2 separate regions of the Homo sapiens genome follow, and region 1 is linked to region 2. Evidence: promoter capture Hi-C in human tissues and cell types (Jung and others, 2019). All regions are on one chromosome and are shown on one strand. Each heading gives the region's core, a stretch centred on a gene start or on the middle of the fragment in contact. The rest is flanking DNA. Distances are from core to core; before and after follow the strand shown. Region 1 has its middle 110 kb from the start of SORCS1. Region 2 holds the start of SORCS1 (sortilin related VPS10 domain containing receptor 1).

Region 1 (6,378 bases), core at 2,938-5,437, 110 kb after region 2:
AAAGTCAAGGCCTTTGATAAAGAGGCCTTGGGAGAGGCTCCTGTGAAGTGCCTTGGAACTTCCAATATGGAAGTCTCTAAATGGATTTGGCTGAGCCTGAGTCCTTGACTGCAATTTCCTTCAGAGAACTGCAGTGCACTGACTATGTACTGGGTCTCGTTGGCAAGTACAGCTTTCCCCCATAAGGCCTGTCAGGCAGAGCCCTGTAATTGCCTGTGGTCAGGCCTGAAAGATCACACATAGGATTTTGGCTTGGGCCAGACTTGGTAGGTGGGATGCATTAAAAAACAAACAAACAAAAATATTAATTGACCACAGAGTAATTGCTATGACACTTTGCAGTTGTAAAATGGTACTTTCTTATGGAAAAAAGCATTACTCATTTGTGGGTATAAATGACACTTAGAATTGCAGGAAGTGATGTATAAGTAACCATGTTTGTCATAAAATGTTATATACTGACCTTTCCCCATGCAATTTGCATAGAATTGCTATAGAATCAGGCCTGGAATTAGAACTTGAATCCTAAAACCCAAGTCCAGGTTTTTGCTTGTGAATTTAGGCTGCTTTTTGGTAACTGAAGCAGGGATAATTCTTTTTTTTCCCCCTTAGTTTAATGTATGTGGTAGCAGAAAAAGCAAGGAATCTTTTGGTCTATACATGTAGCTGATTTTAGTAGGATGTATAGATTTTAGCCTAGAGAAAGATGGGGCTGAGGCTAGACAATCTTTTGTGATCATTTTCTTCATTCCCATTTGGCTGAAGCTGGAACATTTCTGGTGGCACATCTTCCATGACTTTGTCCTGCTGGGTTTTAAATAATTCACATGATTGCCCTCTTACTATTTTTCCTGGAATCTTATTCCACCATGTAATGAAGCTATTAAGGAGTTCTTGACATGATACTCTTATGTTCAATTCTGGAGAAATTTTCTTTTAGTCAGTTTAACCTCAATAAGGAGATCAATAAGTATAAAAATTAAAAAGCAAGAAAAGAAAGTAGTAGCGAAAAAGGACAGGGGTAAGGGAGTGGCATTTTGTTTGTTGGGTTGGTTTTGTTTTGGCTGGAGGGGAGGAAGGAATGTAGACGGGTAGTGCCAGGACACATTAAAGGAAAGGAAGAGTTGAGGAGAGAGAAATAAACATGTCTCTCCGAATGGATCTGAGGAGGCACTAGCAGCCAAGAATCAATAGCAAATTCCCTGTCTAATTTCTTCAGTCTCCGTGTGAAACAAACCTCAAGGTTCTGATTTTGGTAACTTCCGTGCATGTGGTCCAGTCTCAGGTTGTTAACTTCAAATTGATATTTAACCATTTAAAAATCCATTTGTACCTATGTTAATCTGCGTAACAAAAACTGGAACATTAGCACTGGAGAGTTTGGGGAATGGAGCGAGAAAGGTGGTTTTGAATGAGATTTATCTCTTCCAAATTTAAAATTGTAACATATCTGTTGCTTTTTTCACCTACAACCACTTCACTCCCTTCCCCTATCCCTGAAAACTCCCTCCTATTCTCAGTTTTGAAACTGTGAGTTCTCAAGGTACTAGATTTCTACAACTAATAGGAGGCTGGCAGGTAGCACTCAAGAAGGCTCTGTCATTTCCAGAGATTACAAAAAGCACCAGATTCTTTCCCACTGAACCCATTAGGGTAGTGGGAAGCAGAGTTTCCAGGTGGGTGCCACAAAGGGTAAGGCATCTGATGGCATTCTTGGGGTTTGCTTGTACAAAGATACTCAGGTGTGGGAGGGATGTTCAATGAAATATTTCTTTATATCACCCCAAACAGCAATGTTTTAAGAGGAATCAAGACGTGTTTCATCTTACATCCATTTGATGCCATAGTTTTGTTAATGGTGGAAGGTGTCCAGGTTCTTGGCATTTTGAACAAAGAATTGGACAAAATGCACAAACCAAGCAAGGAAGGAATGAAGGGATTTATTGAAAATGAAAGTACACTCCAGTGTGGGAGCAGGCCCAAGCATAGGAGCTCAAAAGCCCTGTTACGGAATTTTTGGGAGTTTACCCCCTAGAGGATTCCATCGGTTATTTGGTGTATGCCCTATGTAAATGGAGACGATGAAGTTACAAGGTCATTTACTTGGTCTACGCCCTATGGAGAGGATATTTCCTGTCACAGCTGAAGTGTGAATCGATTGGCCTTATGTTCCCTGCCTCCAGACCCTATTTTCCCGCCTTTTACTCTTTTGTTCACCCTCCCTCCATCTCCTAGCACAACTAATGTCGTTTTTGGAATAAAATTCGAAATCTTTAACAGCAGACTGTGACTGATCTGGCCCTTGCTTGTCTCTCCAGCCTCATCTCTGGCCATCTTCCCTGCATACTGTCCACACTGGCCATGAGCAATGTCCTAAAGAGTGGCACATGCCTCCACACCTAAGAGGCCTCCACATGCTGCAGTTTCCTTGTTTTTACTGTGCTATCCAATACCATCCTCTTTCTCCAATGAAACCTCACTTATTGTATTATTGCTTAATTATCACATCCTCAGAGAAAAGTTCTGACCACCCTTACTCCCATACTAGATCAGTTTTTCTGTCATAAGTTCTCATAAGATCCTATACGTTTCCCCCAAAGCAATTATAGTTAATCACACTATTGCATAACTAAACACGCAGATGTATCTTTTCCTGCTGGAAAGAAAACTTTATGAAGACAGAACCCTGTCTATTTCACTGTCTGGTACCACTGGTCCTTAGGGCCGTGCTGCTACAGAGTACATAATGAGCAGCTTTTTGTTGGATTAGTCACTGTATGTTACAACCACATCTGAGAATGAATGGAGAGCAACTGCCCAAATTCAAAGACCTTTGTGAGACCATTAAAAATAATTGAATTGAGAAAACAAAGCATTTTCTACATAGAAACATGTGTGCTGCCTTTTTAAGTCATCAAAGAAATATTCCAACTGTGTGCTAGTATATTGTTATAATTCCTGTTTATACAACAGAACACCCACACTCCAAACACATAGAATATCTCTACTTAATAGCTACATTTTCTGTTGTGGATGGTGGACAATTTCTCCTATGCTTCTGTATCTTTTCATATATGTGTCCATATGTGTTTGTGTTTGTGTATATTGTGTGTACGTTTTATTTCTAATTCAATCTGTAAACACTAAAAAGGATAAATTTACTTTTTTACAGCAGAAAGTGCACTGTTAAGTAAACTCTATTCAGTGGTGTGCTGGGGCTGGGTTATATTGTCTTGTGAGAGCTGATCGTATGCTCTGATCAACTTTGTCCATTCATGTCAAATATGTAATACGGAGTCAGAAATGGTGGGAGTATTTACATCATGAAAAGTGGCCAACACTAGAAATCAGGGCTATTTTTTTTGAGAGTCTGTTGCTAAGCATTTACCAGCAAAAAATGGTTATAATACTAGTTAAGGTTAACAATAATTGCCTATGTCTTGAGAAAATTAATAGTTTCTCAGAGTAGTCTACAGTTAATGGATTGGTGTGATATATCAATTAAGAGATCCAAATTCATGTAGATGTACAGACTGGATTAGATGAGTGAAGGGATTCCCTGTTAGAGATAGGCAAAATTTCTCCACATTCAGAAACTGAATTATTCAAAGATGTGAATACAGTGAACTGGTAAATTTAAAATCCAGCATTTACAGGTGTCAATTTTAAAAAGAGGCAATGCTAGTAATTTTAGGAGGAGAAATCTATTCCAGAGTTGTTGCTGGGATAAAAGGACATGGGTATTGTAAAAATATGAGGGAGTAAAAAATATTTGATGGGCTTTTTAATAGGAAGACTCAGGAACTTGAAAATTATGTAAGCAAAAGCATAAAAATTGCTTAAAATAGTTATTGTACTAAGTCTGCATTGGTGAAGAGCATTCCACACAAAGTGGTAGAGACAGTTGAAAACAATGAATCTATTTCAGAAATAGGGTTTTATAATCACAATTTTTAGAAAATGTATGAGTTGGAATTGAAAGTTTAGCCAAGCATGATACTGTAACAACCTAAATCGAACGGCTAAAGATCCAATAAAAGATGATCAGAGATGAGGTACAGAGCTCAGCCCAAATCTGTGGGATCTGGGGGAAATGATCCCAGTTTCCTGTGATGTCCTCAATCCTTGTAGATTTCCTTTCACCTAGACTCTGCTGTACTCACTGCCTGTTTTACCCAAAAGACAGTGAGATTTTGATGCTTCTGGTAGTCATTATCTTCAGAATGTAGCATCTTTAGCTATTCTCTTTGCTTTCTTTGTGCATAGCATAAAACATGGCTGAAAGTTATGTCAAGTGTGAAAACAGTCATTCTCTGCATCTAAGTCACATTTCATTATTCTCACCTCCAGTACTAATAATCTCCAGGCACATCCTACCAATGCCTCTTATATATTTTGGTCCTACTGCTGAACAGCTTTAAATTTTCAGGCCTGGCTAATTTATACAGACACCCTCTCATGCGATGTTAAAGCAACCACAGCATAGCTCTCCTGGGACTAACTAAAACAATGGGATTTTCTTTTCTTTTTTTTTTCTTTCTTTAAATCAAATAGTAGGTCTCAGCCATGCAGGTGGTCCAGCTTTGTTCACTGCTGTGTGTTTTAACTAAGCTTGTTTTTGAGTCATACTGTAGGTTCCCTGCTGAGTGTTCCTGGGTCCTAAGGTTCTTGCGGGTTCTGAGAGGGCCTCTGTCTTCTCTTATTGGACTCTGTGGTGGATCCTTCAAAGATTATTGATTTTTAAGGTATTTGGTTTTTATAGACTGATTTAGTTCACACTAATTTCTGAAATCCACCCAAAGTTATTTGTGTTTCTGTCTTCTGCTTGTGAAACCTTAGTTTTAATATATAAGCACATAATCTGAAGCTAAGAATAAGTGAAAGAAAAAGACCCTTTTTCATTTCATTATTGTTATTATATTTTTGTTATTGTGGTTTTAGCTAAAAAATTAGCAGAGAGCTAACCAGAGAAACTTGTGACTTTGTTTTTAGACATTAGGTTGGATGGCAAAGTGAAATGTGGTCTAGAATAGAGTCTAATCCTGTGTTGCTACCACCTAGCTGAATGACTTTAGCAAGCTACTTCATCGTTTCAGGTGTCTCTTTCTTCATCTGTAAAATAAATAACTCTAAAGCTCCTTTTTCTCTAATATTCTATGAAGACATAGCACATAAGTCAGAATACCTTAGAGAGTCTGGAGAGGGAGACACCTGCTGTAGTCCAGTGAATACTCATATAAGGCTGAAGGAAAGATCAATACATATTAAACTGTCAAAACGTAATGCCTTTATTTTCTCCTAAAAAGGTGTATCATCCATACTGTATCCATATATAATGTTACTGCAACAAGGCAAGATAACAGAAAATAGCAGGGGAGATAAAAACAAATCTTACTATTTGTCAGACACTGTGCTGAATGCTTTGCACATATCATCTTCTTATAATGCAATAGCTTCATGGGGCAGGCATTATTATCACCACCTTACACATGAGCCTTAAAGAGGTTAAGTAATTTGCTTAATGTCATGTCACTAGTAAATTATGTATATTGTATTCCAATCCAACTCACTCTGATGTAAATAACACTGCCACCCCAAGAGGGAAAGAGACTGGTACCATCCCATATCTTTTGTTAAGTGGCTGGATCTAACACCTGGATAAGTTGATTCTGGATAACTCTATAGTCCAACTCTACAGATTCTGGAGAACTCTATAGTCCATCTCAGTATAGACTGCAGGAGATTTTGTTCTGGGATGTGTGAAGGAACCTGGAACTCACATGTATCTTTCAGTAGGGTAGCTCTCTGACTAAATAAGAAAAATAAATCTTGCTTATATCAGACTGTTGCTATCTGTCCTTTGGGGGAGACAGCATCTCTGCCATGTTCATCAGCAATGTCTCCAAGGCCATGATCCTTCAACTCATCATCCAGTTTTCTGAGGAAGTGGAGAGTGAGTGAAGTTGATTGATTGAATGGTCCTGTGCCTAGAAAACAACAAAGTGATTTTAACCCAGAGCCATGTACTACATTCAGCTCATTGCTAACTGCAAAGACATTCATCTATAAAGTAAACTCACTGGGCTGTTTATTCCTTTTTATTGTTTATAAAAAAATATTTATTTTTATTTATTTATTTATTTATTGTTTTTTTGTGTGTGTATGTGTGTGTGCATTAAAATGACAATAAACTGGAATTAATGTGCTTACTCTGAACCTAAAAAGAAGATACTTGGTGGATACTGAGGTAATCTTTATGCTTTACCAGGAGGGTATACACGCTTTGAGTTGTCTGTGAAACACTGGAGTATGTTAAGTTATCCATCTATTTTTGGAGTGGTATTCAATGACTAGGCAACCCTTGCTAATGTGATGAAG
Region 2 (6,535 bases), core at 2,766-5,265:
GAAATACTAAACTTAACTCCGGCATAAAAATATGAAAAAGAGATATTAACACCCGTCACCTACTTACTACCTACAAAGGATTTTATAAAGATTAATGCTACAGCACTTTAAAATCCCTTGGAAATAAGGAATAAACACATACACCATTATGCATACATATAAAGGCAAATATATATTTTAACACTCTAAGGATTACTATATAAATTTAGATCAGGGCACAGCATGCCTGGGATGAGTAGGGTGGGAACAATATGTTCTTGCTTACGACACCAAGCTCATGACAAATGATTCATACCCAGCACCTTTCATGCCAGAAGATCCCCCCAGGTGTTCCACCAACTCTAGCAACAGTTTCCATCAATCGAGACTGCAGTACAGAGGAATCACATCACACCCACAGACGAGGCAAAACAGACATGTCTTTATACAACTGCTCAAGTCCAACAGCTGAGGGGGCAGGAAAGTGAAGGGAAGGAGGTGAGTGAACCATCCAGAATTCCTCACCAGATTGACAAGCAGCCTATAATTACCATGCATTTGCACCTTGAATGCAGGTGTTGTCATAATCAGAGACTCTTCATAGCAAAGGCTTTTTGCTAAAGGTGAGAAGGGTTCACAGGATGTGCACTGCCTGTGGTCCTGAATGGGTCTGGGGGCAGATTTATAGGGGAGGACATCTAAATGTGAAAAGATAAGAGTCCCCCATGCCCCTCCACCACTCCAATCTGGCCCTCGGGTTTAAATTAGTGGATTTCCCACCCTGGGGTAAAGTGAAGTGCTGTTGAGAGTTCCAAACAAGTGTATGAGGCTGTAAAGTCACACTGCCCTCTTATGTATAGCCTGGCTCCTAATTCTCTGTAGTTAATCTGACCGGCATAGCCCCCACTTTAGAGATGAAAAAATCCACATTCAGCGGACACTCAACTTGCCTCGGTCAAACCACAAATAAGCAGAACTAGAATTCAGGTCTCCACTCTGCTTTGCATTCTACAAAACGGCCAAAAAAAAAAAGTTTATTTATGCTTTCTTTCCCTTTAAAAAATATTTTAAACTTTCTCTGAGTCTGGTCCAGATACGTAGGACTGGCTTTGTTTTGGAGGACATAGATAAAGACTATTTCTCTTTCTCCACTATCTGTATGTATATACTTAAAAAAGAAAAAGAAGAAACACCTTTGTGTGTGATGACCAGAGCAGAGACTGGGTCAGCAGAGGTCTTTATGGAATAAGAGACTTCAGGGGGCAGAAATCTCACCTCATTAGTTAACATGATTTGAGTGATCAAAACTTTAACACTCATCACCTCATTTCCTACGTTATCTCAGACCTGCCTGCATGTTCAATGCCCTGAACCTAATAAGCCCTACTAGAATTATAAGCACCATTTATTATTATTTTTTAATGCTGGCAGTGCTTGGCACCATTTCCTAAACGGAGGTTAAAAATTTGCCAAAGATGTATTCTACTTTTCTCTTTCTTTCCAAGATCTTTCAAGAGATGAGCTAAAAGAAGAGGTCTAATGGGTGAGTGATATTTTACAGCTTGAATTACATTAAAAGCCAGAAACATTCTGAGTCCAAAGTCTTTTACTTCTTAATACAACAAGAGCTAACATGTTTGATGTGTTTCAAATCTCCCCTTAAAGCCAGAAGCTTTGAGTTAATCACTTAAAGCAGTGTGAAAGTTATTCAATCAGTTTAAGAAGATTCGAGTTCAAATTAGAGGATTAATTTTAGTGGCTATGATATGAAAGATATAATGGTTAAGGTAAGGAATGAGGGCAAGGGTCTCCAGAACTTGAATGGAAAGAATTTCAGCTTCATTTATTTGATCAAACCACTCCTGAGAACCATATAAAATCACAGACTCTGTCATGAAGGAGGAATTGTAGGGAAAACCCTGCTACTACTCTCAGGACAGATACATCAATGCTAAATATTATCTATCATGATGTGCCTTAATACAATTTATATCTGTGTACCCAAGGAATTCATGATGACAGATTAGTATTTTAAAATGTTCACAACTCTCATTAAAAAGCTGACAATGAGCACAACTCACTAAAGTGGCACTTCTCTGGGAAGGTTTCTGGGAATTACATCACAACAGAAAACGTTTTGAAAGGTTCCAGACTGCGTAAATTGTGCATATTACAAACACTACAATCTCAATTACCTGGTTGAAGCTGTAAAACTTGAAATTTTTTTCCCCCATTTTACCCATCCTTGGTTGTTATGTTCTTGTCTATGTCTGGAGAAGTTTCCACACTTTAAAATCACTTTTAGTTATTACAATCAAAGCTGGTTCTCTACTATTTCAACTCACTGAAGTTTCTAGGTTCAATTTAAACAGGAATAGCTCCCTCAGATTGCAGACATGCAAGCTTTTCTGAAAATCTAAAACCTTTCCTGATAGGACCAAAGCTCATGGACTTGCATCCTAAGTCCCCTGGAATCCAGCCTCCTGGAATTGAGCAATCCCTTTCCTGCCTTCATAAAGGGAATGTTAAGTCTTTATTTGTGCTCTTCATTAGAGGAGGTCAGGCAATGGGGGAGAACAGGGAGTTGTTGTCACTGGGATATATCTGATCTTCCTGGGACTGACCATGCCAGAGAACAACCGCTCATTCACGGGCTGGAAAGCCCCAGTTCTCAAAACACCCTCGCTTAGCGCTGTTAGAAGATGCTGGAGAGTTCCTGCCCTGAAACTTGCATCCACTTGGTCCCTAAAGCAGAGGATACACTAAAGAACACCTTATATACTCTCCACTGCAGTTCTCCCTTGTGGAGAAGAAGGGGTTAGGAGCTCCGCATGAAATTAAAATAAAATAAAATAAAACGCCTACATATATGGGTCTTCTTAATCTTCTTTGAGCCAGTACATAGGTCTGGCAAGTAAAGGGAAAGTCACTTGAGGGGATGTCAGCTTGCCTGGAAATTTAACCCTTTCATCTCTGTATTAGGAGAACTTTAACCCCTCTGTTTACCTGGTCTTCAGTTCCACACACCAATGCGACCAAGGCAACAGGAAATAGGGATTTGACTCCTCAGTTTGAAGCTGTGGCATTTGGAGAGGACTCTGATGGTGTTGGTGGGAGAGATGGGGAGGTTGGTCTCCTAGTAGGTGATGTTAACTCTTGGGGGAAGTGGGCAGAGACCAGTTTGCAGCATCTCCCATGTCCAGAAACCCTATTTCCCCCCAATTCTCCATCAGATCACACAGCCGACTTTAACCCTTTCCATCTTTCCACCCCTTTACCCTCAGTCCCATTCTACTCACGCTGCTGTTGTGGCCAGACCAGTGGACCATGGCTTGGTTGTGTGCTGAGTCTCCCGTCAGCGCAAACGTGGTGCTGGTCAGTCTCAGCTCCTCCATCCGGAAGCGGGTGGCTTTGTCCGGGTCCCGCTCCCGAGTCCCAGGCTCCTGCTGCCCTCCATCTCTTAGCACTCCCCGGGGGCTCCGACTCGCGCCCTCTCCCCGTTCTGCCTTCTCCTGATCCGCTCCGCTCCGTCTCCTCCGGCCGGAGCGTGCAGCAACCGCCATGGATGCCCCAGTGCCCCGAGCCCGCTCCAGGGATAGCGCTCGGTCCCCGGGGGCCACTGAGAACAGGGGACGCACTACGAGGGGCAGGGGCGTGGCAGGAGCCCTGCCTGGCCGCCCCTGGTGGGAAAAGCCCCTAGGGGTCGAGGCCGAGCGTGGAGCGGAGCTGGGGTGCGGCGAGGGGCAGCAGGAGCCGCCGCCGCAGACGCCCGGGGCGCAGAGGATCAAGAGCCCCGCGCCGGCGAGGAGCGCGCTCAGCCGGGCTTGGGAGCCGCCGCCGGCGCCAACTTTTCCCATCGCGGGAGCGAAGAGCAGCGGAGAGAGGGGTCCCAGAACGAAGGTGGCGGCACGAGCTCTGCGCTGGCGGCTGTGGGGGGCCGGCGCTCAGGACCCCAACTCCATCCAAGTTGCGCCGCGGTGGGGGCGGGCGGAGGCGGCGCCGGGCAGGTGGCGGCCGCTTGCCCGGGCTGGGCTTGTGCCGAGCGCGGGTCCGGACGGAGCGAGCCGCCGCCGCGCGGGGGTGGAGCTGAGCTGAAGTCACTGGCGGAGCGGGCGCGGGCGCTGGCGGGCGACGCGGGAGGGAGGGCAGGCGCTGCCGGGACTCCGGGCGCCGCGTCCCGCGGCCGAGCTGCGCTGCGCACCGGGTCTCCGGGCGCTGGAGGCGCCGCCGGCGACCTCCCCTCGGCCTCGCAGGCGCTGCCGCCGCCTCTCCCCGCCGCCCACTCTGCGCCCCCGCGGCCGCGGGTCCCGGCGCTGAGTCCGCGCACCCTGCCCGCGGGGGCGGTCGACCCCGGGCTCCCGGAGCAGTCGATGTGTCGGGAGCTTCCTATTCCTGCTTTATTGTTTCTATGAGTCTATGTTGCTGTTTCCTTTTTTCTCCGTCTTTCTGGTCTTTTCTAGTTGAGGAGATAGGGATGGGTGGGCTTCTGCTCCTTCCCTCTCTTATGCTTCCTGAGTTGGCATCTTGACCTTACCCGCAGCAGAGCCTGTGTGTCCCAGCCTGGGGGGAGATCCCGGAAAGGCAGCAGCAGAGAGTGATGTAATTAAATGATCTCGTGTGTGAGTGTGTGTGTGTGTGTGTGTGTGTGTGTGTTAGTTTGGGGGATTTTTTTTCCCATCAATTTTAACGCTTAGATTTCTCTCCTAACCTCCTAAAGCATTCACTGAATTTGAACCCAATCTTCCTGCATGCAATCATATTTAAGAAAACGCTTTCCACTACGCGTTTTTTAAGCGTATATATCTTGGTTTCCCTAAGAGACTGCAAACTCATTGAGGACAGGAAGATCAAATTTCGAGCAACTTGGAGGAAGTGACCTGTTTTTTGTTTACCATTTTCCTCAGTACGTGGCACAGTACCCTACATGGGAGGAAATCTGCCAGTCATTAGTTCAATAAATATTTATTGTGAGTCTAATGCATATCTGCATAACAAATAAATACAGGAAAGGAGGCACAGTACTTATAGTTATTCTGTGTCACTTGGTGCCTGGCCCAGTGCTACTGCCACATGCTTTGAGATCCCTAATAGCAAGTCTGTGATGGTGCTCTGCCACTGGTTTGCTTTGGGACCTCAGACAAATCACAATCTGTCAGCTTCCTAAGCTTTAAAATTAAATGGTCACATTAGATGACCTTTAAAATCCCTTCCGCTCCTAAAATTCTATAATTGTATGATTATAGTATCTGCCCAGCCTAGCACCCTGCTACTATTCGTAAGTTCAGATGAAGATTTATAGCAGGTGAATGGGCTTTGAAAACGGCAAAGGATTTCTCAAAATCCAATCCTTTTTAAAGTAGACAGTTTGCTTCTAAGGGTTGAAATGGTTTCAGATTTCTTTGCAGTCTTCATATACGTAATATTCTCTTAGGTACATGTTATTACATTATTTAATGAATATTTACTGATTGAATAAATGAATGACACAACAAAATAGTACCGATTCCAGTTTCTAGTTACATTTTTGTTCATTTTCATACTAGAATAATAACCTCACTGAAAAATCTGTATACCGTGTTTGCGATGAGGCCAAGTTCAAAGTAATACAGAGTGATAATTACTCTTCAATTAATGAAATTCTTTCTAATGTCCAAGAAAACGTCTGTTATATCAATCCAATCCAGAGAGGTGTTGTAAAATATCGGCCTAAGTTCTTGTTCTTACGACCAGCGCAGAAAAAGTGCAAATGCAAGGAGGGCAGGCTTCTCAGCCATTAAACTTGAGTACCTAAAAGGACCTAAAAGAGTGTCCTGTTTGTCGTTAAAGAAGAAATACAAGCAAAAGCTCCTTTATGCCTGAATCCTCCAAAACAGAAAGGCTGTCTGGCAGGCTATGGCCTCTAGATGGAGGAGAGGAGAGCCAGAGGTCCTCTCTCCTCCTCAAATTGCAAATGTTCTTTGTCAAAACCCAGAGCGGTAGTTTTTTCTTTCCTCAGAAAGGTTTTTAGAGCTTTGCAGGATCATTTACTTAATGACTTCTTTCTATGCCCTGCTAACCTCCTTTCCAGTCTGGATAAGTACATGGGAATTCCTCCAAGAAAGGAAAAGCAGATTAAAGAATCAGAACCCAAATAAATTATCATCCAAATATAGGCTGGAAGAAGCAAAATGGAAAAGAAGACATTAGTGGATTCAGATTTCCTGGCTTTAGTCTATCATTGCCCTACCACCATTTATGTTATTTTGGTTTCAAAATGGAAGCGCTTCCTGAAGAATGCTCGTACAAGTAGAGTAGATTTTTCCTTCCCAGAATTTACAACCTCTTTTCAAACACACCTGTCAGAATGATCCCTTTAAAATGAAAGCATTTGCAGTCCATTTGCTGGGAGTTCATAGAGAGCAGGCAAGTTTTTAATGCCTGATTTTAATTATTCATTTGAGACAGAAGTTACACAAGTGTGGATGACATTGGCTGCAAGCCGTATTGTTCATATGTAGATAGATGGATTCATTTTATTTCTTATGGCTCTGCTCCCCGTTTACTTTTGCCAACAAAC

Evidence for each region. Contacts are between HindIII fragments. The study calls those that stand out against the background at their distance.
Region 1: a fragment that was not itself captured here is called in contact with the fragment with the promoter of SORCS1 in region 2 in 2 of the 25 tissues and cell types used here (heart right ventricle and mesendoderm cells).

The regions. Positions count from the first base shown.
Region 1 is chr10:107,273,220-107,279,597 of GRCh38, forward strand. No RefSeq gene overlaps it. Among named protein-coding and RNA genes, the nearest start is that of SORCS1, 110 kb to the left of the region's middle. The HindIII fragment of the contact is 3,812 bases long and covers 2,282-6,093 here.
Region 2 is chr10:107,160,691-107,167,225 of GRCh38, forward strand. SORCS1 (sortilin related VPS10 domain containing receptor 1) reads right to left here and starts at 4,016. Exons shown (of 26, transcript NM_052918.5): 1 at 3,279-4,016. The coding sequence starts at 3,836. RefSeq lists a silencer at 3,732-3,925. The HindIII fragment of the contact is 4,558 bases long and covers 2,017-6,535 here.